3 separate regions of the Homo sapiens genome follow, and regions 2 and 3 are each linked to region 1. The links are contacts of gene promoters, found by promoter capture Hi-C in human tissues and cell types (Jung and others, 2019). All regions are on one chromosome and are shown on one strand. Each heading gives the region's core, a stretch centred on a gene start or on the middle of the fragment in contact. The rest is flanking DNA. Distances are from core to core; before and after follow the strand shown.

What was found. Contacts are between HindIII fragments. The study calls those that stand out against the background at their distance.
Region 2: a contact is called between a fragment that was not itself captured here and the fragment with the promoter of LRRC7 in region 1, in 2 of the 25 tissues and cell types used here (adrenal gland and aorta).
Region 3: a fragment that was not itself captured here is called in contact with the fragment with the promoter of LRRC7 in region 1 in 2 of the 25 tissues and cell types used here (dorsolateral prefrontal cortex and hippocampus).

Annotation. Positions count from the first base shown.
Region 1 is chr1:69,566,114-69,570,796 of GRCh38, forward strand. It overlaps LRRC7 (leucine rich repeat containing 7), which reads left to right and starts at 1,809. Exons shown (of 27, transcript NM_001370785.2): 1 at 1,809-2,528. The coding sequence starts at 2,527. RefSeq lists a silencer at 1,233-1,462. The HindIII fragment of the contact is 6,759 bases long and covers 1-4,683 here.
Region 2 is chr1:69,484,254-69,488,936 of GRCh38, forward strand. All of the region lies in intron 1 of LOC105378789 (a long non-coding RNA gene), which reads left to right. Among named protein-coding and RNA genes, the nearest start is that of LINC01758, 53 kb to the left of the region's middle. The HindIII fragment of the contact is 9,481 bases long and covers 1-4,683 here.
Region 3 is chr1:69,648,380-69,653,062 of GRCh38, forward strand. All of the region lies in intron 1 of LRRC7 (leucine rich repeat containing 7), which reads left to right. Among named protein-coding and RNA genes, the nearest start is that of LRRC7, 83 kb to the left of the region's middle. The HindIII fragment of the contact is 3,341 bases long and covers 779-4,119 here.

The DNA.
Region 1 (4,683 bases), core at 559-3,058:
GATCTGGCTTTTCAAAATATACTCCTTTTCCTTTCTATATGCAAATGATATGAAACACTGGCAAGTTGTCCTTAAAAGTCAGCCCACCTTCATGGCCCAGATAAAGTGGGCAATAATTCCTCTCTAGGTCCTCCGCACATTAGGTGCCAGTCTCTCAAGTCTCTTCCTAGACAATTTCTAGCAGCCAGGAAACATAATTTTTGACCTTGAAGACTTTAGCATTCCAAATCTAAGAATACAATCAGGTGTGTTTTCTTTTGGCAAACTGTGAGCTTACACACACCCCCAGAGTGGCATTTGAATGCTGTGCACAGTCTTGACTGTGTTCGAGGTTAGAGAACTAAAGACAAGATTCTTTCTCTCTTGTAATGAAGAAACAAAAACCACATAGCCTATATTCCACAAAAGAATACCAGCATAATATATCCTTTTTTAAAGATGTAATTCATTAGATGTGTGTAGAGAATAAAAGTGTAAATATAGGCTGGGAACGGTGGCTCACGTCTATAATCCCAGCATTTTGGGAGGCCGAGACAGGTGGATCACCTGAGGTCAGGAATTCGAGACCAGCCTGGGCAACATGGTGAAACCCCCGTCTCTACTAAAAATACAAAAAAAATCATCCGGGCGTGGTGGCACGCGCCTGTAATCCCAGCTACTCGGGAGGCTGAGGCAGGAAGATCGCTTGAACCGGGGAGGAAGAGGTTGCAGTGAGCCGAGATCGCGCCATTGTACTCCAGCCTGGTCAACAAGAGCGAAACTCCGTTTCAAAAAAAAAAAAAAAAAGTGTAAATATAGTACTAGCTTCATTGATATGTCTTGCTGCTTCTGGGACTTTAGAGAAGCGTATAAGAAGAAAGTGTGTGTGCCTTTACGTAAGGGAGCATATGAGAGAGAGAGAGAGAGTGTGTGTGTGTGTGTGTGTGTGTGTGTGTGTGTGTGTGTGTGTCAGAGAGAATGTTCATGGCAGGAGGAGGGGCGGTGAATATATGAAGGGAAGTTGGGAAAACCCTTCCCTTTTTGTGCACTCCCAGGGCAGCAGCCGCAACCCCAGAATGAGGAGAGGACTTAAGAGCAGGCACAAGGTTCGCTGCCATGACTGATGTGAAGCGACCTGACGCACAAGCGGAGACTTTTCTCCTTGGCAGCCAACAACCTGCAGCAGGCAAGGCGGGCGGGGGAGGAAACCCCGAGGAGGCGCTCCCGGCCGCCTCTTTGCTGAGATAGCAGGAGCAGCAGCCTGAGGAGCCACGAGCTCAGCGTCACTGAGCTAGTGCGGGTGCAGGGGCGCTCAGGCAGGCGCACAGGCCGGGAGCCGCTTCTGCCGCTCAGGCGGCCGCGCTGCAGAAAGCCGCGCCGCGCTGCCCGAGCGCCCGGGGCTGGCCCGCGAGCGGGAGGAGCCGGCAGCCGCGCTCCGCCCCGCGCTGAGATTCGTGCCACCTGCCTCGAACACCACGGAGGCGAGAGGAACCCAGAGAGCTCGGCCTCTCGTCCCGTTCTCGAAAAGCAGCCTATCGTGACGGAGCCGGGAGAAGGCTAGCGTTTCAATCCTGTGCAGGACTGGGATTTTTCTTCTCATAATTTGGGGGAGCCGGAGTAGAGGTCAGAGGGACAGGCGAGGATCTCAAAAAGAGACCGAGGGTTGTGAACATGGTTACCCCCTCCTATCATTGGAAAATCTCCTTGACATTTTTCACACTTTGAAGCAGCTGCAGCTGGTGTCGTCGGAAAAGGGGGTGGGAAAAAAGAGAGGGGGCGGGGAGAGCGGTGAGACACAGCCAAGAGCCATGAGCGGCGCCTCCTCGCCTGCCAATCCTGGCACCTGTGCGCCGAGCCACTGCACCGAGGAGGACCCTACTCCGGGTGAACACCGGGCTTGAAGCCACGGACACCCAGCCCCAGTGCAGCGGGTTCTCGCCGGCGGGACCTGCAGCCGCCCACTCGGGCCACCGCCACCGCCTCCTGCAGTTGCGGAGCGCTCAGCCCCTCCGAGACGCCCGCTGCGCCCTGGCCCCTGGGGATCCTCGCCCTGCACAGGCGCGGCAACGGGCAGGGGTTGTTACGGAGTTGGGTGCAGGATTCGCCTTTCCTGCTTGTCTCTTCTCCGCCCAGGATTTATTGTCTGTGGAGCCTTCTGGGGGCGGGGAGGGAGCTGCGCCTCCGCCACCGCCGCCGCCGCCGCCGCTGCTGCTGCGGTCGCTAGCGCGGCGCGCTGGGCAGGCTGAGGCTGGGGAGTGGACGCGCTCCTGCCTCCCCCGCCGGCGCTTCGGGCTTCCCCTCAGCCGCTTCCCGCGGGAACCTCTCCAGCCGTCCACCTGAAGGGCACTGGCATCATGGTCTAACGTGGCACCTTCCTGGATTCCCCTCTATCTCCTGTTCTTCCTACCTTCTACTCCTTCCCTCCTCTTCTCCTCCGAAGACCCTGGCGCCCACTCCACTGCGGACCCCTGAACACTTAAGGAATAACCCTTGGCAGCTGCACGACTACGCTCTCCGAAACCTCATGGGCAGTTTCTCCCGCCGGCGATGTGAGTAAGGCACGCTCGCTCCGTGGCGGAGGGTGCTGCGGGGGCCCGGCCGCGGCGACCGTAGGCGCGCGAGGTGTGGGACCCCAGAGGCCGGCCGGGGGCGGGGGTGGCAGGGCGGGAGGCTTCGGCGCTCGCGGGGAGCTGCTTGTGCGGTGGCCGAGGGAGGCGGCGAAGATGTGGTAGGTTGCAGAGCATTTGGAAATGGGGTGCTAACTGGGCGGGTGCATGGGAGCACCGAGTAGCTTGAGCTGGCAAGAGACCTTAAAGGGTTACATACTGCGAAAAGGAAAGGTAAATGTTGGGCGCTGGTGCTGGGACCATTGGTTCCGCTGAAATTAGGTTTAGCTCCTCGTTATTATCTTGGGTATCTCCAGTCAGCTTTTTTCCCAGAGGTGTCTGAGGGATGAAGCGCGTGTTTGATCGTGACACACACACACACACACTCACACACACTTGTGGCAGGACGCACTTGTCTCTTTATCTTGGAAGGTGTTGTATCAATGTCTCGATGTCTGTTTGAAAAAATACAATTAGAAGATTTTTATGTGATTGGGATTGAAGGGAAAGGGTGGGGTTTGGGGGGATGGAGGGGACGAAGGAACATGAAAGACTGGAGGACGGAAAGAAGTGGGGGAGCGTGTTCCCTGGGAGTCAGGGAGAACCTTGCCTCCCTCCCTGTCAGCTAGACAACTCCTGCCCACACATCTCCTTTGTGTGGCACGAGAAGCTGGTGAACCTGCCTATTCCCAATCCAGCGCTGGGTCCCCTTGAGGATCTTGCGTCCTCCTCTCCGAGTTATTAAGGATGCAGGACGTGTTTCGGATTCGACGTGGAAAGAGGGAGGGAAGCACATTAGCATTAAGGTAATCATGGCACCCTGGCTCGTGGACTATTAGATTGGCTACCAGTGGTCTCTAATCTTACTGTTTGCAGAGTCAAGAATGGGGGCGGGGGTTGGGGGACTGTATAGATTGCCTTTTAAAATAGTGTGACTTCATAATAACGGAGATGGCTGAAAGATTGCTTCCTTACACTACTTCTCGGCCATCAGGGCTGAATAAAGGACCCGCCTCCGCCCTCTACTCCGGCTCTTCTCTGGCTGTCTCTTCCCCATCAAGTCATAAAGCGAGCGGGTTGGGCGAGAGGGCACAGCTCGAGGCAGAGAAGAGACGGGGTCACTTTCACAACTCCCAGGAATCGGCTTCAGAAAGGAACCATCTGCGACTCCCACGTTCCTTTCGAAGTTCTCCTTCAAAAGGAATTACAAAAAAAAAAAAAAAAAAAAAAGCGATGGGGGTGGGGATCGGTAAGACACAGGGGTCCTCCCCCTGCTCTTTTCAATTACTTTCCCAATACTCTTTCAACACATCGAATTTACCTGCAGTGGTAACTGGGTCAGCAGGTAAATAGATTTGTATCTGTATATGTCGAAATGTGGCTCTCCTGGTGGATGAAAAGCAATTTTTTGTGAGCATATTCTAACCTAGGCGAAATTTCTAAGCACAATAGAGATTTTTATAGCGTGGGCGAGAAGAGTGCATTCCAGCGAAAGCAGGACACGTGATCCCTCCAACGGGTGAGATACAGTATTAGGAACTCGATTTTCTTTGTTCCAGCCTGAGCCTATGAGATGTTCAGCATCCTGGTTGCTTAAGTCCTCCTATAGAAGGAAAATAATAATAATAATAATAATAAAGTTGATCGGAGGCGAAATAGAGGGAAAATAAGCACAGGTAGACATGCGTGAACGGTTTGAAAGCTTCGCCTCTGCCTTTTTTTACCGCCCACCCTTCACCCCCACCCCTTGCTCCAGCCAGCCCCCTATTTTAAAATGAGGCATTTCCTCTGGGAGACGGTGGAAAAGTTCTCCAGCCCCTGCACACGTGGGTTCTCCAGCACTTCAGAACCTGCTGTGATTCGCAACAGATTACACCACCTTCCCAGTCCAAGTGTCACGCCTCCGTCCAGGCTTCCTTGAATTGGCTTCCAGGAAGGACTCTAAGGGAACTACCACGAGGTGTTTTTTGTTTGTTTGTTGTTTTTTGTTTGTTTGTTTTTACAAAAGACAGTAAAGCAATGAAGTCTTTACTTTTTAGAAATCATTGATTGCACAGGGGGAAAAATGAGCAAATAGGGATGTAGGAATGATTTTATG
Region 2 (4,683 bases), core at 1,394-3,893, 81 kb before region 1:
ACCTCAAAATCATTTTCTCACAGGAAAAATTTAGCAAAGCATCACAACCTGGTTCAAGATAGAATAAAGTTCGGAAAATAAAAGAACATGGATGAAAGAAAATACAGGGTGTATCAGGACATACACTACTTAGATTAAAAAGAAAAGTCAGAAGACATTTCTCTGCATAAGATCATTCCACCTTTATACACACACCTGCACACACATGCATTCTTTGTGTGTGCAGTAAAATAATAAATGCTGCCAAACAAAAATTCTAAAAACAAAGCACCTTTTTTCTTAGTAATAATCTATCAATAATAATCGGGTAACCAGCCATTTTAATTAAAAAAATCTAACCAGTTTCTCTTTGGAAACCTCAGCAAGTCTGTTGCTATTGATTTGATCAGTAGAATTGGCATATCTGTGTGGTGGGCTCCACCATTCTCAGCATATTCGATCACATGTTGTATTGCAAGTGTCGCATAGGCACAGATGGGGAGTAATTTGAGAGAGCTATTTACTCAACACCAACTCTTCACCAGCTATTGGGTCAGTTTTATTACATGATTATTTAATCATTATGTGAACTCCATGGGTAGTTGTATCTCCTCTTTATGAAGGAGGAAGCTGGCTCAATTATATAGGCAACCCAGAATTCAAATCAATGTAAAAATGACTTCATAGCCCCTACTTATGCTGTGGTGTCACAATATCAATGAGATATCTCATTTGTGGTTCCATCTTCATCTAGTCTACATCAATACTGAGTAAGACAGGAAATAGTTCATGAGGAGCTGCCAAATAGGTGACGTGTATATTTTACCCTATCAAGTTGGCCCAGTTCATATGCTTCAGTATTATTTGCTCAAATTTCTTAAAATCCATAAATCTAAGTATTACTTCAGGTCTACATAATCAGAAAACTTAATGGGTAGAGCCCAGTATCTGTAGTTTTAAAAGCTTCATGGATGATTCTAATGTTCGTGCTAAACTATTTTCTGAACTTTTCTATTCTTTTAAATCCATAATTACTTATTGAAAACCTACTAAGTCATCTACCAAAGGCAAATTTTGTTACAAGGACCTGGTAAGTACCCAGAAATACATGTTATTATTTTCCTGACATTTTCCCAGGGCCTGGAAAGTGACTTTGATTGACCAAAGATTGTCTCAAGGGTGCTTTAAATATAAAAAGAATTCATCAGCCTATACAGATGTCTATCACGTACAGGTAAAACTAGGTACATTGCTTTGCTTATGCTCATCAGGAAACAATCTAACCTTGGTCTCTATTTTTTATTAGCAAGAGTGATATACAATCCTATGGACACATGTTCTGGCCTTTTCTTGAATCAAATCAACAAACAGCATGATTTTGGTAGTTGAAAAAGAATCAATGAAGTTTGAAATATTATGCTAATGGTCCCATTACATTATGAATAATGGCCTTATTTTCTTCAAACTAGAAAGAAAATAAATTTTCTCTAGATGGGGAAAAATAATTTACTATTTAGGAAAAATCACAAACCACAAATTCCTGGTTTCCAGTCAGGCATATAAAGAGCTTAGAAGTCACCACTCTACCCTAACAAGTGAAAAGCTAAACAAACTGAGAAATCAACAACTCTTCTTACATCTATCAGGGATTTCAGGTCACTCAATTCAAACACTGCTACTCCCAAAATTAGAGAGACAGACAGGCAGATACAGAGAATCACACTTCACTGGAGCAGAAACCCACGGTAGGAACCTCCACATGAACTACTGAAGAAGTAGGAAAACTAAACTATAATTGACCACTTGCTGGAGGCTTGATATGGACAAGTATGAGAGTTAAAAATCTCAGGTAGACGTAATCATAGGACAGCCTTCATGCTTTAGTGAGTTTTCCCTCCAGGAGACCTACCAGGTCCTCACAATGAATGTCAGGGAAAAAAAAATCCCCTCCCTGCTTCTGTCAGGGAGAGGAGAAAAGGAGCCATTTTATTGTTTTTTGGGTTTTTTTGTTGTTGTTTTATATATATATATATATATATATATATATATATATATATATATATATTTATTTATTTATTATACTTTAAGTTCTAGGGTACATGTGCACAACATACAGGTTTGTTATATATGTATACATGTGCCATGCTGGTGTGCTGCACCCATTAACTGGTCATTTACATTAGATATATCTCCTAATGCTATCCCTCCCTCCTCCCACCACCCCACAACAGGCCCTGGTGTGTGATGTTCCCCTTCCTGTGTCCAAGTGTTCTCATTGTTCAATTCACACCTATGAGTGAGAACATGCAGTGTTTAGTTTTTTGTTCTTGCGATAGTTTGCTGAGAATGATGGTTTCCAGCTTTATCCATGTCCCTACAAAGGACATGAACTCATCATTTTTTATGGCTGCATAGTATTCCATGGTATATATGTGCCACATTTTCTTAATCCAGTCTATCATTGCTGGACTTTTGGGTTGGTTCCAAGTCTTTGCTATTGTGAGTAGTACTGCAATAAACATACGTGTGCATGTGTCTTTATAGCAACACGATTTGTAATCCTTTGGGTATATACTCAGTAATGGGATGGCTGGTTCAAATGGTATTTCTAGTTCCAGATCCCTGAGGAATCGCCACACTGTCTTCCACAATGGTTGAACTAGTTTACAGTCCCACCAACAGTGTAAAAGTGTTCCTATTTCTCCACATCCTCTCCAGCACCTGTTGTTTCCTGACTTTTTAATGATCGCCATTCTAACTGGTGTGAGATGGTATCTCATTGTGGTTTTGATTTGCATTTCTCTGATGGCCAGTGATGATGAGCATTTTTTCATGTGTCTTTTGGCTGCATAAATGTCTTCCTTTGAGAATTGTCTGTTCATATCCTTTGCCCACTTTTTGATGGGGTTGTTTGATTTTTTCTTTCAAATTTGTTTAAGTTCTTTGTATATTCTGGATATTAGCCCTTTGTCAGATGAGTAGATTGCAAAAATTTTCTCCCGTTTCGTAGGTTGTCTGTTCACTCTGATGTTAGTTTCTTTTGCTGTGCAGAAGCTCTTTAGTTTAATTAGATCCCATTTGTCAATTGTGGCTTTTGTTGCCATTGCTTTTGGTGTTTTAGACATGAAGTCCTTGCCCATGCCTATGTCCTGAATGGTAATGCCTAGGTTCCTTCTAGGATTTTTATGGTTTTAGGTCTAACGTTTAAGTCTTTAATCCATCTTGAATTAATTTTAGTATAAGGTGTAAGGAAGGGATCCAGTTTCAGCTTTCTACATATGGCTAGCCAGTTTTCCCAGCACCATTTATTAAATAGGGAATCCTTTCCCCATTTCTTGTTTTTGTCAGGTTTGTCAAAGATCAGATAGTTGTAGATGTGTGGTATTATTTCTGAAGGCTCTGTTCTGTTCCATTGTTCTGTATCTCTGTTTTGTTACCAGTACCATGCTGTTTTGGTTACTGTAGCCTTGTAGTATAGTTTGAAGTCAGGTAGCATGATGCCTCCAGCTTTGTTCTTTTGGCTTAGGATTGACTTGGCAATACGGGCTCTTTTTTGGTTCCATATGAAATTTAAAGTAGTTTTTTCTAATTCTGTGAAGAAAGTCTTTGGTAGTTTGATGGTGATGGCATTGAATCTATAAATTACCTTGGGCACTATGGCCATTTTCACGATATTGATTCTTCCTATCCATAAGCATGGAATGTTCTTCCATTTGTTTTTATCCTCTTTTATTTTGTTGAGCAGTGGTTTGTAGTTCTCCTTGAAGAGGTCCTTCACAAAAAGGAGCCATCTTAAAATACACCAGAACAGTCTATTCTTCACAAGGCCTGCTCTCAGGAGAAGCTATTTTACCAGAACCTAATCTGCTGGGGTTTTTATCAGAGTCTGACCTACCTAGGGAAAAGAAAATGCCCAACTCAAGTTCCCGCTAGGCTTCCAGGTGGGAGAAGAAAATAGCCAGTTCTAGGCCCTCTAGCCATCCTGTCCTACCTAAGAGGGGAGAAACACTGAGAAGCACTTGAGAAGTTCATAGTTCATGAGCACAGGCTCACCAAAAGACTGAAACCTAATCATAGGACCACAGTATGCATCCCTTTCCTTCACACCTTAACACTATTATCAAAGTCTCATTCATCACAATTCCTTTTACCAGAACATCATGCACAACTTCCAACAAAAAATTACAGGCATACTAAAAAGGGAAGAGATGGAACATGAATCAGAACCAGAGTCAGATACAGCAAGAATGTTAGAATTGTCGCATCAGAAATTTTTAAAAATCTGTGATGAATATGTTAAAGAATTTAATGGAAAAAAGCAGACAACATGCAAGAACAAATTGGCAGTGTAAACAGAGGCGAAAATTATAAGAAAGAATCTAAAAAAATGCTAGAGATCAAAAACACTAACAGAAATGAAAAATGCCTTTGCTGGACTTACTAGTAGACTGGACACATCTGAGGAAAGAATCTTTGAGCTTGAGTGTATTACAATAGAAACTCCTGAAACTGAAAAGTGAAGAGAAAAAAAAAAAAAAAACTAGAAAAAAGAACAGAATATTCAAGAACTGTGGGACAACTACAAAAGGTAATGCTAATGTGTAATGCGAATGCCAAAGGACAAGAAAGACAGAAAGGAACTGAAGCACTATTTGAAGCAAGAATGCCTGAGACTTTCCCCCAAATTAATGTCAAACACCAAAC
Region 3 (4,683 bases), core at 1,199-3,698, 83 kb after region 1:
TCACTAGATGAGCAAGGGTGGAGCCTATTAATCCTGAAAACCAATTATTGTCCTTCTTCTGCCTTGCTCCATGTCCAGGGAGAAGACCTATAGCTGGTTTCTGGCTGCAATTAACCAGTGGGAGACACTGGTTGGAGAAGAAAGAGAAATGGGAAAAGCCAGAGTATTTCTCTCCCACCACAGGGGCCTTCACTAGCAGCAGCTACATATCCTCCATCATGTTTTTGGCTCCTGCCCAGTAAGCCTACTAAGGTTTCAACCTCTGCTATATGAATCAAGGCCCTGGGCTTCAGAAACATGCCTCTTCCTGTTTACATACATACTGGCTTCCAGCTCTTGCTACTCTCTGCCCTCTCTTGGGCTTCTCAGCTCCTCCACCTCCTGTGTAACCAATTTCCTTGCACTCAGTTCTCTCTGTGACAAATATTTGAAGTGGTTTTTGACTTTTAGTAACACTGTGAGACACTAGGTAAAAACAGGTGATGAGATATGTTGTAGACAGCACAAATAGTATATTTAAAGGTATCACTATGAGAAAAGGCAAATGGGATTGTATTTTTATGGATTCTAGAAAGCTACCAGAAAATGTTGAGAAAATATTCTTTTGAGAAAGTAATCATGTGCTGACACAGAATTAAAGATTTTTTAAAGATTTATTAAACATTACGATGCAGTTTTTCAAGATTTCCCATTCTCTAAAATGTTATTGCTATTGGAATGTGAACATACAGATATTGTTAGATTCTGTCTCACTCACTATACACTTCAGTACCTGGCTTCACCACTCACCAGTTACATGACGTACAAGTTACTTTACTTTTTGTTGCCTCAGTTTATTCATACATAAAGTGGAAATTATAATAGTAACTTATTTACTTCATAAAGTACCTACAATAGTGCCTAGTTACAGTGAGTATTCTCAAATTGTTAGTTCTTGTTTTATTCTTATTTTTTTCCCTCAATTTTGAAGGGAGAGAAAGCTATGGGAAGTGAGGATGATATATGTGCTTTGCCTAACCAAGATTTTAAGCAGACCTACAGTACTACGGAAGAAAGGAAGTGAAATCTGGAAATGTTACTAGGCTTCAGATTTTGAAGATTTGTGTATGACATATAAAAGGTAATTAAATATCTAGAGCATTCAAAAATATTCTGGGATTGCTTTAGATAATGAAATTGGAAGGAAGTGATAATAGAGATTAGAAGTAATTTGGGAAGTTCTGGTAACCCTCTAGGAAAGATGTCAACAAAGAGACCACTAGCCCATATGGCACCTTTGCTAATTGAAAAATGACTCCCCTTCCTCCATGCACATGCAATTCCATGCAAAAGTATATGGTTTGGTAGACAGGCTCCTAAGCCTGGTTCTTTTACGCAGTTCACAAACTGCCTCCAGCTTTTTGTGCAAGCAGCTTTAGACATTACAAAACGGCTTAAGGGTGGTAAAGATGGCTTAAAGAATCAAAGTGATTGAAAAAAAAAAACCAAAAACACCCTCACAGGATAATTCTTGGCCTTCAATGACAGTCGCATAAGGATTAGGCTCACTCCTCAAGGAGATTTAACAGATATGAATACTTTATGGATGATGACAGGCAAGCATGCGATAAGAGATGGTAAGATACAGTTAGAGAATCCATCAATGTTTTCCAAAACAAATATTAATTTCAAGTCAGTGTGACTCTTTCTTCTAATGAAACTCAAGGACATAGCACAACAGTAATAATCTTACTCCATTATTAATTTTCTGGTTTTTTCTTCAAGGAAAATTATTTCCCTGGCACATATTAATTTTATTCCTTATAAAAGAAGAGCAAATTTGTTTTTTAATATTCTTTGGAATATTATTGAAAAACATTTTCATAAAAAGCCAAGCATCAGCCAGGCGCGGTGGCTCACGCCTGTAATCCCAGCACTTTGGGATGCCAGGACGGGTGGATCACGAAGTCAGGAGATCGAGACCATCGTGGCTAACATGGTGAAAACCCGTCTCTACTAAAAATGAAAAAAATTAGCCGGGCGTGGTGGTGGGTGCCTGCAGTCCCAGCTACTCAGGAGACTGAGGCTGGAGAATGGCGTGAACCTGGGAGGCAGAGCTTGCAGTGAGCCGAGATCGCGCCACTGCACTCCAGCCTGGGCGAAAAAGAGAGACTCCGTCTCAAAAAAAAAAAAAAATGCCAAGCATCTTTGGCATTTGTTACACAAGAATACATTGCTTCATACATGTAGCAAATATTCATTAAGCATGCATTATAGGCTATCTGTGAAGTCTTTGTCTGTGTTTGATACACACGTCTTTAAGCTTTGTATAAAATTAGTGTTTTTAGCCATAGCTTCCTAAACAAAATATGTTGTGCAATTTCTTATAATCAGAAAATCTTAATCATTTCTTTTAAAATATACTCTGAGTGCTTCAAAATTTTCAGATACTCCTTGGCAGAATTTGGGAGCATATTGCAAGCATCATTGGTTTGGCACTGTCGATAGCTTACCTAATTTACTGGGTATATTTTAGCACATTTTTCATTTGATTATAGCTGCCACTGATATAAATGCTATCCTCACATGAAAGTTACAGCAGTAGTGACAAGTATAGATGTCAATTTCAAAATTATGGACTGAAGCATCGAGCTAAATTATTCCCTGAGACAGTTTGGCATGTCTAGATTAATGAAAATAAGTGACGAATGTCAACTCTTTCTAATTAGGTGACATGCTGGAGGTACCATATGAATACAGCTTAGTTTTGGCATGAACTTAGAAGCATAAATATGTTAACTTTTCCATATTTTATTCATATACTGTATAAGTAATTTCAAATCTGCATATTTATTTAAAGATATATATTTTTAAAAACATTGTTTTCTGAGGCAAGTTTAACCTGGTTTACAAATCATCCTATGGTACTGATTAGAAAAAAAAAGTGCACTACATTTGAAGCAAGAGCAACTATAACTTTCTCTATAGTTGAGAGCAAAATTACGCATCCTTTGGGACATAATGGACCTTTGCAAATCCAATTATATCTGCCAATTCAAAGAGTTTTCATTTTGTCTTGCTGTATCTACCAAAGTTATTTTTAAAAGCACTGGCAGATAAAATTAACATAATTTATTTAAAAGTTAAAAGCACTGTGGGAGTACTGACATCAGTAAAATGACATAATAAGAAGTCCTAGCCCCTCCACAGAAATATTGATTAAGCAATAATACATGGAGCAAAATACCTTTATGAGAATTCCAGAATCCAATTAAAAAGTTGCAGTATCCCAGGTGAGCACAAAGCTGGGAACACTTGCATTAAAACAGGTAAGAAGAGCAATTTTACTTTACCTGCATCAGCCCATTCCCAACACCAAGAGAGAATGTCCTGGCTCCCTGCTTCTCGGTCAAGGGAAAAGAGAAGAGTGGAACATGCATGTAAAGTTCTAGCTCTTTGGAGGGCTGTCTGGGGGACTGGTTTCTGTCAGTACCTCATTCAGAGCACTGACAGAACTGGCAGAGTTTGCATTCCTGGAGGCCCACTGAGAACAAGAAGAGGAGGGCATGGCTTGGTCCAGTCAGCATGACTTGGTGTGAATAGAAAAGGTACACAACTTGAAGCTTCTCCTTCAGGAGGAAAGGAGAGGAGTGGAGAGTGTATCCTGCATTTCAGCTCCTGGAATGGCTACCCAAGCAACTGGTAATAGTCTTGCCTTACTTAGGGCCCTGATTAGAAGCCAGAATACTTTGGATTTGGAGTTCAACTCTCCTTACATCTCAAGGAACTGTTCAGAACAATTAGGCAAGAAAAAGAAATAAAGGGCATACAAATAAGAAAGAGGTACAATTTTCTCTGTTCACAGATGACATGATGTTATACGTAGAAAACCCTATTCACAAACTGTTAGAACTAATATATCAGTTCAGCAAAGTTGCAGGATACAAAATCAACACACAAAAAATAAATTACATTCTGTACATTAACAATGAATAATTCAAAAAGGAAATTAAGAAACTAATCTTATCTAAAGTAACACCAACAAAAATAATTAGGGAAGCAAAAGACCTGTAAACTGAAAATTATTAAATATTGATAAAATGAATTGAAGAGGACCTAAATAAATGAAGAGGCTCTTGTGTGCATGGATTTGAAGACTTAATATTGTTAAAATGCCCATGCTACCCAAAGCAATCTACAAATTCAATGCAATCTCTACCAAAATCCCAATGGCATTTTTAAAGTGAATTGTGTAATTGTTTTTTCAATTCTATAATTTGGAAAAACTCCCCTATCTCCCATGGAACCTCAAAGGACTCTGAATAGCCATAACAGTCTTCAAAAAAAAAATAATAATAACCAAAATAGAGGCTTCACATCGCTTGATTTCAAAACTACAGTATTAAAACATTATATTACTGCCATAAAGACATATAGACCAATGGAACAAAGAGAGCTGAGAAATAAACTCACTCATATATGTTCAAATGATCTTTGTCAATGGCATCAAGACTATTCAATGGGGAAAGGATAGTTTCTTCAAGAAATAGTGTGGGGAAAGCTGAATACCCACACACAAAAATCAACTCAAAATGGATTAAAAATTTAAAGATAAGATGGGAAACCATAAAATTCCTAAAAGAAAACACAGAAAAAGCTTCTTGCCAATTGGTCTTGGCAATGATTTATTGGATTTGACACCAA